3 separate regions of the Homo sapiens genome follow, and all the other regions are linked to region 2. Evidence: promoter capture Hi-C in 16 types of primary human blood cells and fetal thymus (Javierre and others, 2016). All regions are on one chromosome and are shown on one strand. Each heading gives the region's core, a stretch centred on a gene start or on the middle of the fragment in contact. The rest is flanking DNA. Distances are from core to core; before and after follow the strand shown.

Region 1 (2,700 bases), core at 103-2,602, 71 kb before region 2:
TGTATATTGTACCTGATTTGGAGATCCATACTTGGAAAAAATAGTTTCTTGATTGATTTCTCAAAACTCCAGTGCTCTTACTAAATGTTAAAGTATTACCAGCAGCATATTACTCCAAATAAACAATTTGCTGTTTCTTTTCTTTTTATTCAATTTTTTAAATCAACACTCTACCCAGATTTTGTGAACAATTTAATTTTTTATTTTTAATCTTCTTCATTGGGAGAAATATTTCTGGCAGCCATTATCTGCTTAGACAGCTGAAAGATGGAAAAAGGAGTGGTCCATAAGTACTCAGCAGTATCTTTCACACAGGTTCCAAGGCCATCCCTCCACCAGAGATGAGTTAGACTAAAAGGAAGAAGAAAGACCAACAGGAATTAGATTACTTAGGGTTGTGGTTGGACTTTTGTGGAATGGAGTGTAGTTTTTGGTTTTTCCATAAGGTGCTCAATTATATTCTGATCTTGGTTAACTCCAGAATTCTCACTAAAACCTAAAGTCTTAACCTGTCATTCTTAACGGAGCAATTGATATGTTGTGTTTGTTCTTTCATAGAAAGCAAGTCTGAAGCAGCCAACATCCATTTTGATAGGTAGGAGAGGGAGAGAGGCACTTCCTCTGGATGTCCATCAGGATCTTCTATGCAGGCATCATCAGGCCTCCATCAGAGGCAAGGTAGAAAAGAAAAATGACAGAGACCAACAGGAACTGAATTGTTTAGAGTGTAGTTTGAAGCTTTCAAAGGTTGTTCTCAGCTAAACTTCAGAACTGACAAAAAGTATGAGTGTCTCTTTTATTCCATAATGTTTTATATTATCCTGAAAAAAACTACCCTTTGGCCTTCAATGAAGCCTAGAATATTATTGCCATCATATTAGTCTTGCTAGACAATTTATAGTTTTTTATTATTTTATCTTTTAGAAAGTACACTTTAAGGAGCCATACTCTGATATGACAGATGAGAAAGGGAGAGAAGACTTTTCTCTGGCAGACTATCAGTGTTTGCCTCCCAAATCCCAGGACCAGGATGACATCAAAAATCAGGTAGAGTAGAAGAAAAAGATATAAACAGGAAGGAAGTACCCAGGTTTTATAAATCCCAACAACTGGTAATTTAGAATGAGGGATTTTGGAGCTAACCTAAGAATATAGTGGCTTTTTTCTGATGGAGTCTTTCTCTGTCGCCCAGGCTGGAGTGCAGTGGCACAATCTCGACTCATTGCAACCTCTGCCTCCTGGGTTCAAACGATTCTCCTGCCTCAGCCTCCCGAGTAGCTGGGATTACAGGCGCATGCCAGCACGCCTGGCTAATTTTTGTTTTTTTAGTAGAGATGGGGTTTCAACATGTTGGCCAGGCGGGTCTCGAACTCCTGACCTCAGGTGATCTGCCCGCCTCTTCCTCCCAAAGTGCTGGGTTTACAGGCGTAAGCCACTGTCCCCGGCCAGAATACAGTATTTTTTATTCCTTCCCACATTAGTGGGAAGATGATCCTAAGTCCTATTAGAACAGAGGAACTGCTTCAGGAGCATAGAGTGTTAAACACTAAACAATTCAGTTCCTCCTGGTCTCTCTCCTTTTTGTTTTTTTCTCTTCTACTTTGTACTTCAGTGGTACAAAAGACCCTGGTCTAGGGAACTATATGAGTCAAAATCAGTTCAGTGATTTCTGAGGCTGATGTATCACGTTCATATCTTATTCCAGAATCAGTTGACTATTTTAATTTAACAAGATTATTCTTCAACTCTTACCAAAGCCAACAGTATTGCTGCAAGCATAATGCCCCTACATGTACAATGTAGGAACTAGAAGATACTTAGGATTTGATGAGTTTGTCAGACTATTCTGTCAATGATGGGATTAAGAATTAAGGTCTACATAGTTGAGCTAAAAGTGTAACATCTCCCTCATATCAAAACGTATCAGAATATTTTTACCTGGTTTCATTTCTCTGGAGTTTTCACTGAAGCTTATGATATTATGATTAGCATTACACAATTTTTTTTCTGTTGTTGTTTTTCCTTTAAAATATGTTTCTCAAGCAACCTGCATCTTTTATGAGAGAAGAAAGAGTGAGAGAAGAATTGCCTCTGGACTATCATCAATATGTTGTACCTAAAATCCAGGACCAAGACTCCCCTAGAGAACAGGTAGAACCGAATACAGTAGGAGGACTGTATACCTTCTAAAAGGGGAACAAGCCTAAATCATATTAACATTGAGGCTGAAGCCTGTCAAGCTAGCTTGTTTGTGGAATACATAGAATTAAGGCCTCCAGAATTAAGCTAAGAGTATAATGTTTTTGGTTATTTCAAAATGTGCCAGAATAATCTGGAATTTGCTTTAAAATACTCCAGGAAAAACATTGGAGAAGAGATAGATAATAAAGCAAAATGTTGCTAATTGTTGAATCTGGGTAATTGTTGAATCTTGAGATTCATTATACTTTTTTTTTTTCTACTTTGATGCAAGTTTGGAAATTTTTATGTTGAACACACACACAGCTTTAACTGTGTTCTATTATCCTCACCTAGTGTCATTACTCTGGGATTGTCACTGAAGTCTATAATACTGTCACTAGCCCGTCATTTCTGCTTAGACAATCAGTTTTGTATTTTGTTGTTCCTTTAGAACAAGCATATCAAACTACCCTCATCTTTTGAGAAATGGGAGATTGCAAGAGGAAATACTCCTGGAGT
Region 2 (2,700 bases), core at 32-2,531:
ACCTAGGTGGGTAATAGCCACCTAACTGACTTGTAAGAGTGAAATGAATATACCCCCAAGTACAGTGAGTGGTCTAATCAGGGGTTTGATTTAGTGAATTGCCGCTAATGACACTGGTCCTTTGGTGTTTCAAGCCTCTGCACCCTATTTGGGCCTCCCTTCTACTTATGCCTTTCTTCTTTTCTCTATTCCTTTACCTTTTGTCGTTGGCGTGTTACCGTCTTCATTTCTGCCACTAGACCTATGCCCCCTGACTGCCTGGGATTAACAGAGGCTTTTACAACTCTGCTTACCCTCTTTTTCTTGATTCTAGGGCTGGTACGAGCCAAGCCCATTATTCTAGGTCCTAATCTGTTTGGTGGAGTTGTTACTCCACTTCTCTGACCTTGCGCGTAGGGCCTGGGCACTCCTAGGAATTAGGGGCAGGGTGGGGTTAGGGCTGAAACCCATTTGCTCCGACACTCCTGTTTTATGTTCTATTAACTTTATTCCTCAGGGGAATACTTCCCTTTGCAGCCTTCTGTATTTCACCCTTGGGTTCATGTACAAGGATCTCACAATTATCAGTGGAAACATACCCTGAAATCTTCAGGCTAGAGGCAGTCACTTTCAGGACCACAGAAGTCCCTGCCTGGTGGCTGCTTGCCTCCAGAAAGGAGAGCAGGAGTGACTGCCACATTGTCATGGCGGGAGCGCGTGGGGGCCGGTGTCTGTGAAGCCGGGGAAGAGTGGGGTCCTGTGGAATATGAGCAGGGCAGGAAGCCCCAGCCTGAGCCTGTGGTGTGTTTGGGGCCGAATATTGTCCCCCCCCCGCCCCCGCCCACGAAAAAAACTCCTGCGCTCCCAGAAGGTGAGAGTACCGAGATTAGTCATGCAGGGCCGCTGAGTGTGACTTCCAGCCCTCCAGCGTCTCGTGTCCCGCCCGTGTCGGAGCCCATGGCTTTTTAGGACAGGAAGCGCTGCGGGGTAGTGCGGGCAGGCAGGCACGTCACACCGGACAGCGTCGAGATTGCTGCTTTCGGTTCCCCAGCGGGTGGTGAGGCAGAAAGTGCAGGGCGGAATGAGGAGCCCCAGCACCTCAGAGCTGTCGGGCAGTGGCGGGGAAGCAAAGCACAGGAGCGCTGTGGTGCCAGCGGCCGGGCTAGGGACGACTGGCGGGTTTGCGCTGGACCCGACCCCGAGGGCGGGCGCAAGGGGGCGGGCGCTGCCGTACTCAGGCCGCGGGGCCAGGGCGGGCCGGCCGGCGGGGCATTTAAACCCCGCTGACAGCCAGTCCAGCCCGGGACACGCGCCCAGCTCTGTAGCCTCCTCCGTCGACTCAGCCTTAGGTACCGGTCAGGCAAAATGCGGTCCTCCCTGGCTCCGGGAGTCTGGTTCTTCCGGGCCTTCTCCAGGGACAGCTGGTGAGCGGGGCAGGGGAGGGAGGCGTGCCGGGACCTCCTGGGCTCGGGGCTTGCAGGGGCCGCGGGGGGCCTCGGAGATCACCCCAGATCGGCCCCGGCGTCGCCGCGTGGCCAGGGGTGCTGGGGGGACTTGGTCCCGAGCTCCTCCAGCGGCGCCCGCCTCGGAGGTTGATAACCCTCCCTGCCCAACTCCGCCCGCGCTCCCCCAGACCCCGCGACGCTGGCTCGGTGACACTGGGGAAGAACAGGCTGCCAGGGAGGGTCTCCATCGTTTCCCGTTTCCATCCTCCCCTCCTAACACACATCCGGGGCGCCTTCAGAGCGCCTTTCTGTCGTTGGGCAGCTGGGGAACCTGGGCTCGAAGGCTGGGGAACCGAGGCCAGGGGATGGTAGAGGAAAGGGGTTGCCACTGGGGTTTGTGAGTGTCCCTCTTGGTCTCCTTTAGCCCTCGAACACCAAGGCCAGAACTCAGTGGTCCTGGGAGCTCGTCTCGAGGCCTTTCAGCACCTGGAAAGGGCACAGCTCTCAGAGCAGAGCAGGGCAGCCCCTCGGCAGTGGGAGAAGGGCTTCACAGAGGTTCTCTTCCTGACCGCAGGGACCACATGTTGGGCTGCAAGGTGGGGTGGAGGGGTTTCAGCCACTCTTCCTTAGAGGCGGTCAACCATTGGAGCAGTCCGTTTGGTCTGCACAGTTTTTAAAATATTGTGTTAGTTGCCATTATTTACAAATCATAAAATTTAACAAAAATAGCTAGATTCCAGACTTCTCTTGAACAATAGACGACGTGGACCGGGCATGGTGGTTCATGCTTGTAATCCCACCACTTTGGGAGGCCAAGATGGGAGAATTACATGAGGCCAGGAGTTCGAGACCAGCCTGGCCAACATCGTGAGACCACCCCTCCATTCCCCCCTCACACCCCTCCCTGTCTCTAGAAGTAAAAAAAGGAAAGAAAAGAAAAATGGATGATGTAGCAATACTGGGCCTAAATTTCCAAATTAAATGAATAGGATTGAGGAGTCCCCTTTAGATAGGGCAGGTGCTATTAAAGTGGCCAATTTGTCCTGGTTTTGAAACAGTCTTTTGTCGGCAACCCTCTCAATCCTGGGCAAAATGAGACAATTGGCTACCCTACACACTTTTTAATTGTTGAGAGCTCTCATCAATTCTAACCTTCTTCACTCGTTTAGATTATTTACCTAGTCTTTTTTGAGTTGGAGACTGTTAAAAGATATTTTTCAGAAAAAGATTAAAATCCTGACTCTCACAAAGACATAAGAATGAACCCATGTTAAAG
Region 3 (2,700 bases), core at 45-2,544, 78 kb after region 2:
TTGGCTCTTCAAACACATTCCTCTTAGTTCCCCCTCAAACTCCCTTTCCTGCTCCAGTCTCTGGCCTAAGAGATGTGAAGATGCAGAGGAGGGAGGCAGGAGGGACGGGCCTCCCACTTCCCTACTTCCTTTCAGCAGACCCCTGAAGAAAAGAGGCGGAAGGAACTAGGAATGGGATGAGTTGGGTTCTTGCCAAGGGGCCCTCCCTCCCCTCCCTCCTCTGTCTCCGAGCTCTGCCTGCACTCGGGTTCACGCGGGAGAAGATGAATCTGCAGCACCAGCCCCTGCCAGTCTCCCACAGCCAGGGTGGCCAAGCCCTCAGGGCTCTGCAGGACAATCCTCGGCGTCTGCTGCTGCTGCTGCTGCTGCTGGAACCTTCTCAGGGTGTCCTCTGCTGGCAGGCAGGCTTCGCACACAGGTGAACAGAACTCACCACCAGTGAGAAAGCTGGCCGTCTCACACCTTGGCTAGTTTGTGAAACCCAACTCATTCCACCAATGTTGCCTCATGGACTGGCTTTGGAAATTCCATTAATAGCTCCTCTCTGGCCTTGAAGCCTTGCTACCCTAATCCATCAATGACCATTTCACAACCGGGGAATGACATCTGTCCATGTACTCACTTTTTATGGTCCGGTCCTTTACAGCCTACACACATTCTTCCTGAAGATCTCTTACTGGGTCCTCATGATAATGAAATTCCAGCTGTGCAGAGGGAAACTGAAGCTTGCAGAAATTAAATATATTCACCAAATATCTGAACAAAGAAGTAATCGGTGGAGCCAGGGCAAGAACCCAACTCATCCCATTCCTAGTTCCTTCTGCCTCCTTTCTTCAGGGATCTGCTGGAAGGAAGTAGGGAAGTGGGAGGCCGCACACTCTGGCACAAGGCAAAGGGGTTAACAGGAGTGTGTTGACTTTTGTCCTTCTGCCAAGTCCCCTCACATCCAATTTACATTGTTATACAATGCTGATCTGTACCATTCTTGTTAATGTTTCTTTATAGATGTTTTAGTTATGTCTGTCCCATATGTGCGTCTGACTTTTTTCGTAGAATCTGAGCTAGCTCCTTGCTGCACTACTACCCCGGGAATCAGAACAGGTTTCCGCATGCAGCTCTTTGGTGAGAGTGACTTAGGGCCCCTCGAGGGACATGAGAAAACGATTTCGATACCGTGAACACTGGGGCAGGTAGAAACCCAACTTATCCCAGCTTTTCCATCTTCCTGCCAGGCCCCGGCCGGGCTTCCCAGCCTCCTCGTTAGCCTCTGTGAAAAATTAAAGCCCCAATAATCAAATCAACCCTTGTAAATGCTCTAAAAGCCGCTCCAGAGCACCAAGGAGCCAGCAAACCCCAGACCCAAATCCATGTCAAATTTCATAGATATAATTTAAGCAGGGATCAAAACCCACACTAACCTAGTAACTAAGGCTGCTCAAAATGCACTTTATAGTCCATCTGCCTCTCTGCTTCAGGGAGTCTGTATTAAATTTATTGCAAAGTAAAACAAATAAACCCAGGCAAAGGCAAGATGGAAATCTGCATACTGTCAGAGAATTAGCAGCCCTCTCGGGTTAGGAAGGCTGCCTCTCAATTTGCATCTCTAAGGAGTTGTGACTGGGCTGGGGGGCTGGGATGGTCGGGGCAGGACGGAGACTCGGAGCAGGCCTGCCCCCTGCTGGCTGACTGTAGAACTACAACCCTCTGGCCGCGGTGGTGGGCTCTGCAGGGCTCGCCCCGCCAGCTTTTGAAAGACAATCTGCAGCTGAAATAAATGTTGAAAAGGTGTGGAATTGGAAGAGCACGTAGTAGAAAGAGGGGAGGGAAGGGCTCTGTGGGGAAGAGATCCTCATTTCTGAACATAAAGCTTGAGGAAGGCGGGAACTTGAAGTGGGTGGATATAGAGTTTCAGAGCTGTCTTTTCTGTTGTAGGAACAGGAGACTGCGGTGCATTTCTTGACTCCTCTTCCCCTTCTTTTCCTTCTCCCTTTCCCTTGCTCTCCATAATCACAAAACGCAGAAGACTGGAGTGCAGGCGGCAGGGGTCCTTGCATGGCACTGTTGGCTTTGCTGTGTGACCCTTGGAGAGAGCTGTGCCTGAGACCAGGGTGAGGCCTTGCTTGCAGGGTGGTGCTGGCGGGTTGGCGCCTGTGTGGCTGGAGACGGGGTGCTTCCTGAAATTCCGCTTCACCCCAGGCCTGGCACTGCTCAGTCGGCTCACCTGTGGATAGAGAGGGCCTCTGAGGCTCCTTTCAGAGTGAATATCTGAATTTGATGACTCTGGTTGAAGAGCTCAGGCATCAGTCACAGACTTTCCAGGGAAGCTCCCAGGATCCCCGATACTCTCCTAGGATATTCCCATCATAACCTTCAGCACTGGCTCCAGTGGTACCCTCTCTAGATTGAGGCTCCCCCTGACTTCTTTAGTCAGAGATGGGCTGTCTTCCTTGTACTCCTTTTATAGGTAGGTAGATGGTAGGTAGATAGGTAGACAGATAGATGTAGATATATTGATATACTTATAATCACGTTGTAATAATTTATTTATCAACCCCATCCCCTAGAATGCAAAGTCCTTGAGCTCCATGGACAAGGGGAAGGAGTAAGGCCTGGTGAGTGTCATGGCCAGTCTCAGTGTCTACCCGCTCCCCAATTCCTGCTTTTCCCAGCCAGCACCTGAAACACAGTATGTGTCAAATG

What was found. The method cuts DNA at HindIII sites, captures the fragments that hold promoters and counts their contacts. A CHiCAGO score of 5 or more calls a contact.
Region 1: a contact is called between a fragment that was not itself captured here and the fragment with the promoter of SLC37A2 in region 2, in 1 of 17 cell types (M2 macrophages). The highest score is 6.0, in M2 macrophages.
Region 3: a fragment that was not itself captured here is called in contact with the fragment with the promoter of SLC37A2 in region 2 in 1 of 17 cell types (M2 macrophages); the score reaches 5.4 in M2 macrophages.

Annotation. Positions count from the first base shown.
Region 1 is chr11:124,990,537-124,993,236 of GRCh38, forward strand. It overlaps CCDC15 (coiled-coil domain containing 15), which reads left to right. Exons shown (of 16, transcript NM_025004.3): 9 at 925-1,047; 10 at 2,044-2,151; 11 at 2,633-2,700. Among named protein-coding and RNA genes, the nearest start is that of CCDC15, 38 kb to the left of the region's middle. The HindIII fragment of the contact is 1,232 bases long and covers 737-1,968 here.
Region 2 is chr11:125,062,024-125,064,723 of GRCh38, forward strand. SLC37A2 (solute carrier family 37 member 2) reads left to right here and starts at 1,282. Exons shown (of 18, transcript NM_001145290.2): 1 at 1,282-1,403. The coding sequence starts at 1,345. RefSeq lists silencers at 1,091-1,280, 1,491-1,570. The HindIII fragment of the contact is 6,676 bases long and covers 1-2,700 here.
Region 3 is chr11:125,140,239-125,142,938 of GRCh38, forward strand. No RefSeq gene overlaps it. Among named protein-coding and RNA genes, the nearest start is that of PKNOX2-DT, 23 kb to the right of the region's middle. RefSeq lists an enhancer at 1,553-2,109. The HindIII fragment of the contact is 1,142 bases long and covers 724-1,865 here.